Linked DNA regions of Homo sapiens: regions 2, 3, 4 and 5 are each linked to region 1. The links are contacts of gene promoters, found by promoter capture Hi-C in blood cells and fetal thymus (Javierre and others, 2016). All regions are on one chromosome and are shown on one strand. Each heading gives the region's core, a stretch centred on a gene start or on the middle of the fragment in contact. The rest is flanking DNA. Distances are from core to core; before and after follow the strand shown. Region 1 holds the start of RGS13 (regulator of G protein signaling 13). Region 2 has its middle 29 kb from the start of RGS2-AS1. Region 3 overlaps RO60 (Ro60, Y RNA binding protein). Region 4 overlaps UCHL5 (ubiquitin C-terminal hydrolase L5). Region 5 overlaps GLRX2 (glutaredoxin 2).

Region 1 (2,700 bases), core at 201-2,700:
CCCTAACCTGACAGCTCTGAATTAGTCTGATCCACCTATGTGCCGTACAAAGCATTATATTGCTATGATTTCATAAACTGAACTTGAACTACACTTTTTCAGAGAAACAAAACCATGTTTAGAAATCTGCCACAAATATCTACACATTGCTCTTGAATTCCTCCAGGAATTTCCACCTACTCGTGCTGTTACTCTTCACTCTATGATTTATTTGTTTTTCAGTCCCTGTCGATACTTAAGTTTTACTCTGTAGGGAGATTCTCATGTTTGACTCCATTAAACAAGCTTTGAAACTGACACTCGCACAGGGTGTTACTTCCAGAATCTTCCTGCCAGCTCCTTGCATCCACACCATGAGAAAGAGCAAACATTCCAAATCCCAAAAAAATGAATTATTTGGGGTGAGGAAAAGTCTTGACTATGACACTGAAGATTTCCTGAAGAGATCCAGCATCCAAAATGTCCTGAGTGGGGAGGAAATCGCACACCTAGCACCCAGAGAAAATGAGTGCTATCCACAAACAACCCAGATCCTCCCAAGCTGAGGCTAACCTGCCCTTCACTTCCTACATTATTGCTACATCTACGCAGCTTCTGACTTTCCAAAGTTTCCTTTCCTTTTCTAGTCCCAAACTTATCTCTCAGGTTTGAGAAATTCAATTTTCTTGGGTTTGAATCTCAAAATTATAAAAGACAAGTAAGGTTAATCTTCTATCTCATTGGGCCCCTAAATATTTTAAGAAACACTCCATCAACCACATTTTGATCTTCTTTACTGCTGTTTTATTCTAGCATTTCTTTACTCCTACCTCTCTGTTTCTCTCTCTCTCTCTCCCCCCAAACCCCCCAACTCCCCCACCCCTCCCCACACACACACACAATTGGAGTAAATCCAGGACAAGGGCATTCACAATCTTACCATATTCTGTATTCATTAGACCTTATCTTAAGCACTGTGTTCAATTCAGATTTTGAAGGCATGTTAACAAACTGTAGAACAACGGAGTCCAGAACTGCTGTAGAGGACCAGTTGAAGGAACTAGAGAGGTATAACTAGAAAAGATACTTTTTTAGATCCTTCAGTTGTTAAAAGTCCCTAGTAATCTATTACAAACAGATTGATTTTAATAGTTCTCAACCATTTGCTAACATGTGTTTGCAGTGATGTCCTATGTGTTTGTACTCAGTTCTCTGTCTTTTTTAAAAGGGAATTTTACTTTAGACTATACATTTTCTAAAACTAGAAAAATTATTTTGGAGAAAAAGATTTGAGTATTACTTTGAAGATTTCATGAAGCTGCTGCTTCCAATCATCTGATCACTTCAGATGGTCTGATAATGTTAGATAAAACCTCTTTATCAGTAATGCACTGGAGTCCTACAGCACTACTTTCCATATTCAACAAAACCTCTCTTTGCATAGATACGTGTGTGTAAAAACAGAACATTCATACTGAGGCCAGAGTGCCATCGAAGGTAATTATAGAGACAGTAAAATCCTTTTACTCTGGGAAAAATAAAATGCTGGGTGTCTCACAAAATTTCAGAACCTGATTTCAAACGGATCATAACAAAGAGGAGATCAAATTTAGCATGGTGGACTGCTCGACAGGATATATTTGTAAGTATGAGATTCTATAAAATAGTTGATAAATACAAGACTATTGGCTTGCTATAAATCACTAGCAGATGCTGATTTCAATGGTAGAACTTCTGGGAGTGTTAACAGAGGTTTTTCTAAGAAAAAAAGACAAACTAACAAACACATATTCTTTTGCCTGGCTTTCTATATTTAAAACAAAACTTAGAGTCACTCCTTATATAAATAAATCTTCTAAGTTGGGCAACAGAGGAAATGCTACAGTTTTAAAGTATATTATTTCATTTTATGTTTTTGTGTATATTTTCATTTTAAATGTTTTTCATTTTATATGTTTAGATAAAAACATATTATAAAATCAGACATAGCTGAATTATTTGTTTCAAAAATCATGCATTACCAAATTATTAGTTCCATCCTTTGTTAACTGTACTGAAGCCAGGTGTGGATTATTATAAGGTTTATCTGAAACATTGTTAATCTTGATTTTGTAGAATTTTTTTATTCTTTTATGTTATGCTTAAGCACAACTATGCACAAATTTCTTGAATTTTTTAAAGGACAAGAAATTTGTGTGCTGTGGTCAACAAAAGCTCACTAAAATATAAATTGCTCCAAATTTTACTAAATTTTATGTAACATGCTATATCATAAAATAAAGAAACATATTTAAATGCAGATATATGTAAACAGACAGAATTGCTTTAAGAAAATTTATTTATTTTCATAATACTTTAAGATTTCATTTAAATAATGGAGGAAACAAATCTAATTCTGGCATACTACTAATACAACTCAATCCATTACCAATGCATTTATAATCACTCTGAGAATTAGATTCTATCGGTGAAATGTATTTCTTTCAAATAATTATCAGGAGAAAACAGTGGAGGCAAAATCATCGTGGAGACCTAAACTTGTTCTAAACACTCTATGTTTCGATTGTAAAAGTACACACTAGTTTTACCAAGAGGGTATTGAAAAACAAAAAAGGAAAGCAAATTAATACACAATATTAAGATAAATATAGATTATTTAAATAAAAAGTAATGGAAAATTACAAATTAAAACAGTAAAGAAATTTTTATAATAAGCCATGA
Region 2 (2,700 bases), core at 127-2,626, 340 kb after region 1:
ACATTTGTGTTACACAAAAAGGATCATTCAATTATGTTGTGTTGAGACAGGAGGTAGTGTTTTATCTTCTGCAGTAGCAAATGGAAGTTATTGACTCCTCTGAGATAATATAAAATCCAAAAATATTTAAGAAATAATAAAATAAACTTAGCTTAACATTTACCTACATAACTTTCGGAAACTGATATAAATGCACCTTTCTCTGTGCTCTCCATTCATACAGTATAGTTAAAAACTATTTTTCTCCTATCCTATAAGTCAAATAGAGATTTTAAAAATATTTAAAATGATAAAAATGAGACAATGTTGGAATACTACTGAATTCCTCAGAGATAGGCACAATACGCCTAAAACTGCACATGTTATGAACAATATTGATAACTACTGGGAGACTTTGGCAAACACTTAGCAGCTAGTGTGCTGCAAAAATACTCTCACTCTTCAAAAAATCTATTTTTTTCTCTCCAGCAACAAGAGGAATGCTCATGCACCCAACGGAGGTGGGTGCCAAATTGTTTCACCTTTGACATTCCCCTTCCCCAGTCTTTCACAAATTCTCACTCTCAGCCCTAAGGGAGTGTGTTTGGGCTTGGGAGTTGGGACAGGCTCTGGAGTTGTTGGCAAAGATAAAGAGTATTGAAACGAAGGCAAGTGAGATAAGAAGGGAAAGAAAAAGAAGAAAAAAATATATCATAGGACAGGTGAAGAAATACTCTCCACTTATCATTTTAAGTTAATTTAAAAAAGGGAAAGGGGAACCCAAAAATAGGTTCTGAGCTGCTTACTATGATGCAAATTAATCTCATTCACACCCCCTAATTCGCTGGGCACTTCCAAGATTCTCCTGAAAAAAATCAATATTTTTTTAAGTGTTTATGAATAAGGGGCTCATTGATTTTAAAATTTGACAGCATGTAGGAAAAGAAGACTGGTTAGCAGAATTTAAAATAGAAAGAATCAAAAGCCTAGGTTAGAGTTATATCCTTCAAGTTTAGACAAACTTAGCATCTAGCTTTATTTACATTTCAATGAATACTTGGGACACCTTTTATGATGAATTTACAGGGGTCCCCAACCTCCTGGGCCACAGACTGGTACCAGGGTCTGTGGCCTGTTAGCAACCGGGCAGCACAGCAAGAGGTGAGCAAGCATTACCTGCTGAATTCTACCTCCTGTCAGATCAGCAGCAGGCATTAGATTCTCATAGGAGCACGAACCCTATTGTGAACCGCGTATGCAAGAGATCTAGGTTGCATGCTCCTTGTGATAATCTAATGCCTGACGATCTGAAGTGGAGCTGAAGTGCTGATGCTAGCACTGGGAGCAGCTGCAAATACAGATTAACCTTAGCAGCGAGGTTTGGCTGCACAGAGACCATAATAAATCAACTGCTTTCAGGCTCATATCAAAACCCTATCAGTGAGTGGCAAGTGACAAATTAAGCTGCATCTGGTGGCAGGCTTTACAGTGACGAGTGAGTTGATGTATTTCAATTGTACAGCTGCATTTAATGTCAGGCTTTAAGTCAGAATCAGACGCATTTTATTCCGCTTATGGCCCGCCCATTATTTTATTTACCACTTCCATTCATGCCTCTTTCCCACACTGCACACTTGTCTCAGTCACAGTTTTGGTAAGCCCACGAGCTAACCCTAGCCACAGTGAGTAAAAAACAAATATCACTGGAGAGCTTCTTGGAAAAGGGGAAAAGACCCAGTGATGAGACAGCAGAAGACTCTAAGACTGCCAACAAAAAGTTGCATTTAAAAGAAGATACCGAGACTTAAATTACAGGTTCATTCCAACAGGTGATTCACATTCTCCAAGCTGGCTTTATATATGTGGTGACTGGCTACCCAAAGAAGCCATGAAACCTTCAAAACTTCTTCACCACATGCAGACCAAGCACCCTGCATTAAAAGACAAAACTTTTGCATCTTTCAAAAGAAAAATAATGTGAACATGAAGAACGGTAGCAATTATTGAAGGCCACCACTTCATCAAATGTGTCTGCACTGAGAGCATCATTCTCAGTGGCTAACGGCACTACTAAAGCAAAGAAATCCTTTACTATTGGTGAAGAGTTGATCCTGCCTGCTGCTAAGGACGTTTGCCATTAACTTTTAGGAGAGGCTGCAGTTCAAAAGGTGGCACATGTTCCTCTTTGGGCCAGCACCATATCTAGATGAACGATGAAACAGCAGAGGATATTGAGGCACCACAGTTAGAGAGGATTATTGAGTCACTGTGGTATGCAGTCCAAGTTGAGGAGTCTATCAGTGTTGACAACAAGGCAACAATGCTTGTTTTTGTGTGATGTATTTTTTTTCAGGAGCATGTGCAGGAGGATATTGTCATGCGCTTCCGTGTGAAGAGACCACCAAACAGGCTTTGTGTGAACAATAAAGGTTTTTAATCACCCGCTTGCAGGCAGGCTGAGTCTGAAAAGAGAGTCAGCGAAGGGAGATAGGGGTGGGGCCATTTTATAGGATTTGGGTAGGTAGTGGAAAATTACAGTCAAAGGGGTTTGTGTTGTCGCTTGGCTGCCTCTTCTCTATTATTGTACACTTTGAAGGCAAAGTTAATTAAGTCCTGTTGTGGGGTTTGAGGGCCGGAATCTAATTTTTGGAGTTTTATTTAATGTCAGGAGCGGATTGAGTAATAAAATGCATATTGAGAATAAGACGGCCTTCTGACCTT
Region 3 (2,700 bases), core at 99-2,598, 440 kb after region 1:
CAGGAGTAATTTGAAGTGTGAAGTTCCACAAAAATCAACATGTTCAAAATTTGACTTTTTTTTTTTTTTTGCACCGGAAGTGAAACTTGAAAAGACAGCCACTCAGAAGGGTGGGTTCACATTTCAGTTCTGTGGACTTAAGCCAAGTAAGTTAAGCTGAGTTTCTGACCTTCATCTATTAAAAGGAGGGTAAGGAGAATAAGCTTACAATTATTGAGACTAAATGTCCCAGCACCTAACATGTAGTAGAAGTACACTTTGGTTCTCTATTTCTCCCTTCCACACATATTTTTATATACAGAATCTCTTCAGTAATTCCTGACTTATTTTTTAACTATAACTGGGGTTTTTCAAATGAAATGTAAATAATAAATTGCAAATATTTATATGTATAAACATTTTATTTTGATTTTATTAGATTACATGTTTTAAAATAGTTGAATAATACAGAAAAATATGATGCAGTCCTACTCTTCAAAAGAAATAACTGCATATCAGCAGTCCACAACCCTTCTGATACCAGGGACTGGTTTTGTGGAAGACAGTTTTTCCGCAGGCAGTGGGGAGGGCAGGGTGGTTTCAGAATGAAACTGTTCCACCTCAGATCATCAGGCATCAGATTCTCATAAGGAGAGCGCAACCTAGATCCCTCACATGCTCAGATCATAGTAGGATTCGTGCTCTTATGAGACTAATGCCCAGCTACTGATCTGACAGGAAGTGGAGCTCACTTGCCTGCTGCTCACCTCCTGCTGTGCAGCCCAGTTCCTAACAGGCCACGGACTGGTATCCGTGTATAGCCTGGGAGTTGAGGGCCCTTGCTGTATATCAGATGTTGTAATTTACTCCAGATTTTTCCTAAACATATATTACTGTGTTTCACTAAATTTTGTTACATGCCTTCTATGTTTCAGTAAAAAGTATATTATTGCTATTGCTATTGCTGTTTCTTTCAGGTCAGTAGAAATAGTTGCATATATACCATTGTATGACTGTAATTTATTAGCTAGTCTCTTATTGACAAGAGTTGTTTCTGGTTTTTTTATACTGTTACAAAAATACTACAATGAAAACACTTGCATAGAGTACCTACTTTCATAATGGTTAAATCCACAAACAGTATGTGAAAGGGATCAGTGTACCCACATTTGAACACTTAACTGTTGTCATTATTTTTTAATCTCTTTCAGTAGAATCATGAAAGATTCTTTGAATTTACATTTTTGGGCAGAAGCTCATCTTTGCATGTGCTGATTATATATATATATACACCTATATATTGTATAATATAGTATATATAATATATAATGTTAGTATATAGTATAGTATGTAATATATATATACCTATATACATATATATACCTATATATGTATGCATATAATTATATGTATGTATATATAATATATATGTATGTGTGTGTATATATGTATAATTATACAATTACATCATAGCCCTTTTGTCCACTTAGTTACTGTCTTTTTAACTATTGATTGTGATCACTATTCATTCAACAAATATTTATTTATTTATTTGTTGTATTTATTTTGAGATGGAGTTTCACTTTTGTCACCCAGGCTGGAGTGCAATGGCACAATCTAGGCTCACTGTAACCTCCACCTCCCAGATTCAAGCAATTCTCCTGCCTCAGCCTCCCAAGTAGCTGGGATTACAAGCTCCTGCCGCCATGCTCTGCTAATTTTTGTATTTTTAGTAGAGGCAGGGTTTCACCATGTTGGTAATGCTGGTCTCGAACTCCTGACCTCAGGTGATCCGCCTGCCTTGGCCTCCCAAAGTGCTGGGATTATAGGCATGAACCACTGTGCCTGGCCCTCAGCAAATATTTATTGAGCACCTACTATGGATAGAAACTGTTCTAAGAACTTGGGGTTCATATTAGAGGAGTTGATAATGTATTATTTATATACAGTGCATGCATTTTTTCTTCTTTTTTTTCTTTGTCTTTTTTTTTTTTGGTTGGGGGACATTTCTGGCACACTAAAGTTTTGAATTTTAATGTAGTCAAATTTATCCATGTCTTCATAGGTTTATGTTTTGTGTTAGGATTAGAAGGGCCTTTTCCAACCTAAAATATTTATCTGTGGTTTTTTCCTAACATTTTCTTGGTTAAGAAACATTATTTTTTACATTTAAATTTTTTATCCAAATATTTGATCCAACATAAGAAGGACTTAGGCATCCAGCTTTATTTATTGGTTTGTTGAGATGTGTCTTGGAAGTGTGGAGCAAGTACTAGACTAAGAGAAAGACCGCCCATTACTAGTTCTAACTGGACCAATTAGTTTCTGAACTTGTGAAAATAATTATTCTGTGCTTTGTCTTTTTGGTCTATATAATGAGGAATTAGTAGATGTTTCCTAAACTTACTTCCACACATAGGATTCTTTAATTTGAAATTGTTGAGGGCAGAACTCACAGTTGAAACCATGTTAGTAATAGCAATATCACATTGGACAGAGAATCCCTAGCATTTCAAAGCTTAAAAATTTGGAAAAACTCTAAGCTACAGAATTAATAGTATTTTAATGCCTTTAAGTGTAATGTGTATTTATAACAGACAAAACAAGTCAAAATGTGATTCAAGTCATCAGGTATGGTATTTTTATTGTGCACCCACTGCATGGCCAGCGCAATTACAGAACCGGGTAGGATAAAACTGCTTTAAGGAATTTTTATTTTCA
Region 4 (2,700 bases), core at 102-2,601, 400 kb after region 1:
CCAGCATACACCGAGGATAGACCATGTTAGTCCACAAAACAAGTTCTCAATAAATCACTGAATAATATGATTTATAGTAAAATAACATACCAAGTTTCTCTTCAGACCACAATGGAATAAAACTAGAAATCAATAATAGAAACCTTGGAAACTACACAAACACATAGAGATTAAACAACATGTTACTAAATGATGAATAGGCCAATAAAGAAAATAAGAAAAAAATTTAAAATGCATTGAAACAAATAAAAATGGAAATACAGCATACCAAAATCTATGAGATATGGCAAAAGCATACTAAGAGGGAAATTCATAGCGAAAATATCAAAAAAGTAGAAAGACTCCAAATAAACCACCTAATTATATACCCCAAGGAACTAGAAAAGCAGGAACAAACCAAACCCAAAATTATTAGAAGGAAAGAAATAATAAAGATCAGAGCAGAAATCAATGAAATCGAGACTTAAAAAAACAATATTAAGATCAAGGAAATGAAAAATCTTCAGGAAAGGTAAACAAAATTGACAAACCTTTACCCAGGCTAAGAAAAAAGAAAGACGATCCAAATAAATAAAATCAGAAACAAAAAAGGACACATAACATCTGAAATCACAGTAATACAAAGAATCATTAGAAACTATTATGAACAGCTATATACAAAAAAATTGGAAAACCTAGAAATGGACAAATTCCTAGATACATACAACCTACCAAGACTGAACCAGGAAGGAATAAAAAAATCTAAAGAATCTAATAACAAGTAATGAGATCAGAGCCATAATTAAAAGTAAAGCAAAGCCCAGGATGTGACAACTTCATTACTAAATTCTACTCAACATTTAAAGAAGAATGAATGCTAATTTTACTCAAACTCTTCAAAAAAATTGAAGAAGAAGGAATGCTTTCCAACCCATTCTACAAAATCAGCATTATTCTGATACCAAAACCAGGCAAGGACACAACAAAAAAACTACAGACCAGTATCACTGATGATAATAGATGCAAAAATCTTCAACCAAATAGTAACAAACCAAATTCAAAAGTAACAAACCAAATTAAATAATACCACATTAAAAAGATTATTTACCTAATGGGTGCAGCACACCAACATGGCACATGTATACATATGTAACAAACCAAACCTGCACGTTGTGCACATGTACCCTAGAACTTAAAGTATTAAAAAAAAAAAAAAAAAAAAGGTCATTTACCTTGATTAAGTAAGAGTCATCCAGGGATGCAAGATGGTTCAATATGTGCTAATCAATAAATGTGATACCAAGAAAAAAACTACCTAATTATTTCAACAGATGCTGAAAAAGCATTTGATAAAATTTAACATGCCTTTATGACAAAAACCCTCAATACACTGGATATGGAAGGTACATACCTCAACACAATAACAGCCACATAAAACAGACTCACAGCTAATATCATACTGAATTTAAAAAAAGTTAAAGTCTTAGGCCGGGCACCGTGGCTCACGCCTGTAATCACAGCACTTTGGGAGGCCGAGGCGGGCAGATTACGAGGTCAGGAGATCAAGACCATCCTGGCTAACACGGTGAAACCCTGTCTCCACTAAAAATACAAAAAATTAGCTGGGCATGGTGGCGGACGCCTGTAGTCCCAGCTACTCGGGAGGCTGAGGCAGGAGAATGGCGTGAACCGGGAGGCGGAGCTTGCAGTGAGCCGAGATCGCGCCACTGCACTCCAGCCTGGGCGACAGAGTGAGACTTCATCTCAAAAAAAAAAAAAAAAACCACAGTCTTTCCTCTAAGATCAGGAACAAGACAAGGATGATCATTTTTACCATTTTATTCAACGTAATATTGCAAGTCCTGCCTAGAGCAACCAGGCAAGAGAAGGAAATAAAAGGCATCCAAACTGGAAAGGAAGAAATAAAATTAGCACTGTTCATAGCTGACATAATCTTAGAAAAACCTAAAGACCACCAAAAAACTCTTGGAACTGATAAACGAGTTCAGTAAAGTTGCAGGATATAACCAAGCACAGTAGCTCACACCTGTAATCTCAGCACTTTGGGAGGCTGAGGCAGGAGGAATGCTTGAGCCCAGGAGTTTAAGACCAGCTGGTCAACATAATGAGACCCTGTCTCTACAGAAAATTCTAAAAATTAGCCACCTGTGCTAGTGCACACTTGTAGTCTTAGCTACTCGGGAGGCTGAGGCAGGAGGATTGCTTGAGCCCAGGAGCACAAGGTTATAGTGAGCTATGATTGTGCTACTTCACTCCAGACAGAGCAAGACCCTGTCTCAAAAACAAAAAAGTTGAAGAATATAAAATCAGCATACAAAAATCAGCTGCTATTATATATGCCAACAGTGAATCTGAAAAAGAAATTAAGAAAAAAATCCTATTTAAAAGAGCTACAAAGAATATAAAGTAGGCCAGGTGCAGTGGCTCAAGCCTGTAATCCCAGTACTTTGGGAGCCCAAGGCGGGCAGATCACTTGAGGCCAACCTGGCCTCAAGTTTGAGACCAACCTGGCCAACATGGCAAAATCCTATCTCTACTAAAAATACAAAAATTAGCCTGGCATGGTGGCACATGCCTGTAATCCCAGCTACTCAGGAGGCTGAGGCACAAGAATAGCTTGAACCTGGGAGGCAAGGTGGAGATGAGCCAAGATCGTGCCACTACATTCCAGCCTGGGTGACCTAGTGAGACTATGTCTCA
Region 5 (2,700 bases), core at 47-2,546, 460 kb after region 1:
GAACTATTAAGTCATTAAATGAGTAATTTAGTTTCTCTAAGATAAATTTCATTCCATGCTAAAAATTTAATATACTTCTATTACTCTACAAGTACAAAGTGTGAAGGCTTTTCACAATATCGTATAAGATATTCCTGCCTAGTTCACAAGTGTATCAGCAAAAGCCTTAAATTTTAAAGAGAAATCAAATATCAGTCCTTACCACTTAAAAACTATGTGAGATAAAGAGTTAACTCCTGAATAGGAAATAAAGAATTCCAAATGCTTACCTTCTAGCTCTTGGTTGTAAAATTCATATCTAAATTCCTAATAAAATACATTCTTATCTTGATACAACTCCAACCTTTCATTTTTTTAATACCATCCCTTTTTCTCAAGAATTGGCAAGTGGGAAGAAGAGGTTTCCACCGCAATTTATTGTTCATTATTTTTACATCTTCTTCGTGAAGACAATGCATGTATTTAAAACATCCTCAAACATTTAAAAGACATTATCGGGCATTACCACTTTAAATAACTGACACTGTACTAGCAAACTTATTAGTATAAACATCACTGAAATTCTTTCCTCTTACTTTTTTTTAAATAACACTGATGAACTAGTGGGAGCAATTTTCCTTCTTTGTGAAGCCTATGAGTGTCAGTTGCACCTCCAATAAAAGTACCATTGACAAATATTCTTGGAACCTGTTGGACAAACAAAAGAAGAATTAGGCTTTACTCTAGTATCAGAACTAAGATCATTTCACATAATAACGAGACATTTGAACTCTGGGTACTTTTATGAGCCTGGCACCACAAAGCTCTTTCACAAATTAAATCTTAAAATCTTTACCCTTTAAGGTAGGTATTATTTTTAGCCCTGTTTTGGAGGAAAATGAGGCACAGGAACTTGCACAAAATCACAATGATGGTACATGACAGACTGGGATTCAAATCCAAACAATCTGATTCTAAAACCTTTCTTCCTGATTACTAAAGCTTTAAATAAACTAAAGCAGATAAACAGTAATATTTAGTTATTTCTTACATTTGTTTACTGAAGGGAAAGAGTGCACTATAAACTTTCAATAAACTTGAAAGTGGCAACACTGTACATTTTTCTGATTATGCATATTATGGAAAAATCCAAATTTCAAGAATCTAAAAACATGGAGCACTAAAGCACTCCTATTAGAAAAGTAATTGAAGACCAACCCCTGTATTGCCCAGGTAAAGGGAGGAAGAATACTTTCATCTTGCCAAGAGCTCCAAGAGGAACTCAAAGATCCATAGACAAGCACTCATAATAACACTACTCATCAACCCCAGTCAAAACACACACACAGAATAAAAATAAAATAAATCAACTCTGCTGTTTCCTATTCTAAGAATCTGGTTCCTAGATCTGCAGCTGCTTTATCTATCCTCAGAGAATGTCTGGCTCATTTTCCTAACACAAGGTTCTAGGCTCTGGGTGATCTAGTTTACAACCTATTAAAGAGGAACAGCACCACAGAGGATATACTCACAGTTCTTTCACCAGTCATTTTGTAAAGAGCATCTTGGAACTGGTTTCCATATTCAAGCAGGTCCAGTTCCACCACTTTATAGTTAACATTCATGTCATGGAAAAGCTTTTTTGCCATTGTACAGTAAGAACAGGATGTTTTTGAGAAAATCACCACACAATTATCAGAAATTGTTTCCTGAAATAAAACCACAAAAAATCATTTTAATTCTAGACATTACCATTTGGAAATAAATTAAGATATAATGGAAAGGGTATGGATTTTGGTCTCTCATGATTCTGGGCTCAAACTAAGCATCATCTATTTTTTCTCATCTGCAGATTGAGGATATTTTTCATTTCAAAGCAATGTTATTAGAAAAAAGATATAACAAAAAGTGCCTGGCATAGAGCAATAACAATAAATAATAATTGTAGCCAATTCATATACAGCAACCATTTCTGTGTGCCAGGTACTATTCTCAACAATTTATCTTCACTGTGTTATTTAAACCTCACTACAATCCTGAGGTAGGTCCTATTATTGTCCCCACTTCACAGTTGAGGAAAGTGAGGTGCAGAGGAAGATCAACAATTTGTTCATGGTTCTCAGCTAATAGGTGGAAGAGCTGGGATTAGACCCAGGCAAATCTGGCTCTACAGTCCAGATATTTAATCTCCATTATACTCCTTTTTCAGCCGGGTACAGTGGCTCATACCTGTAATCCCAGCACTGTGGGAGGCTGAAGCAGGCAGATCACTTGAGGTAAGGAGTTCGAGACCAGCCTGGCCAAAATGGTGAAACTCCATCTCTACTAAAAACACAAAAGTTGCCAGGCATGGTGGCACATCCCTGTAATCCCAGCTACTCAGAAGGCTGAGGCAGGAGAATCACTTGAACCAGGGAGGTGGTTCCAGTGATTCTCCAGCCTGAGGAACACAGTAAGTGGACTCTGTCTCAAAACAAACAAACAAACAAACAAAAAAACCAAAACATTGTACATTTCTTTTTTTTGAGACAAAGTCTCACTGTGTCCCCCAGGCTGGAGTGCAGTGGTGGGATCTCAGCAACCTGCGCCTCCCAGGTTCAAGCGATTCTCATGCCTCAGCCTCCCGAGTAGTTAGGATTATAGGCACCTGCCACCACGGCCAGTTAATTTTTGTTTTTTAGTAGAGACGGGGTTTCACCATGTTGGCCAGGCTCGTCTCAA

Evidence for each region. The method cuts DNA at HindIII sites, captures the fragments that hold promoters and counts their contacts. A CHiCAGO score of 5 or more calls a contact.
Region 2: a fragment that was not itself captured here is called in contact with the fragment with the promoter of RGS13 in region 1 in 1 of 17 cell types (non-activated CD4 T cells); the score reaches 5.8 in non-activated CD4 T cells.
Region 3: a contact is called between a fragment that was not itself captured here and the fragment with the promoter of RGS13 in region 1, in 1 of 17 cell types (neutrophils). The highest score is 6.9, in neutrophils.
Region 4: a fragment that was not itself captured here is called in contact with the fragment with the promoter of RGS13 in region 1 in 1 of 17 cell types (neutrophils); the score reaches 5.4 in neutrophils.
Region 5: a fragment that was not itself captured here is called in contact with the fragment with the promoter of RGS13 in region 1 in 1 of 17 cell types (neutrophils); the score reaches 5.6 in neutrophils.

What each region holds. Positions count from the first base shown.
Region 1 is chr1:192,634,697-192,637,396 of GRCh38, forward strand. RGS13 (regulator of G protein signaling 13) reads left to right here and starts at 1,451. Exons shown (of 7, transcript NM_002927.5): 1 at 1,451-1,621. The HindIII fragment of the contact is 2,675 bases long and covers 284-2,700 here.
Region 2 is chr1:192,976,165-192,978,864 of GRCh38, forward strand. No RefSeq gene overlaps it. Among named protein-coding and RNA genes, the nearest start is that of RGS2-AS1, 29 kb to the left of the region's middle. The HindIII fragment of the contact is 5,377 bases long and covers 1-2,700 here.
Region 3 is chr1:193,070,474-193,073,173 of GRCh38, forward strand. The region is part of intron 2 of RO60 (Ro60, Y RNA binding protein); the gene reads left to right. Among named protein-coding and RNA genes, the nearest start is that of RO60, 12 kb to the left of the region's middle. The HindIII fragment of the contact is 2,294 bases long and covers 202-2,495 here.
Region 4 is chr1:193,036,710-193,039,409 of GRCh38, forward strand. All of the region lies in intron 3 of UCHL5 (ubiquitin C-terminal hydrolase L5), which reads right to left. Among named protein-coding and RNA genes, the nearest start is that of UCHL5, 21 kb to the right of the region's middle. The HindIII fragment of the contact is 4,210 bases long and covers 1-2,700 here.
Region 5 is chr1:193,096,073-193,098,772 of GRCh38, forward strand. It overlaps GLRX2 (glutaredoxin 2), which reads right to left. Exons shown (of 4, transcript NM_197962.3): 3 at 1,512-1,688; 4 at 398-687. The coding sequence ends at 553. Among named protein-coding and RNA genes, the nearest start is that of GLRX2, 8.0 kb to the right of the region's middle. The HindIII fragment of the contact is 635 bases long and covers 980-1,614 here.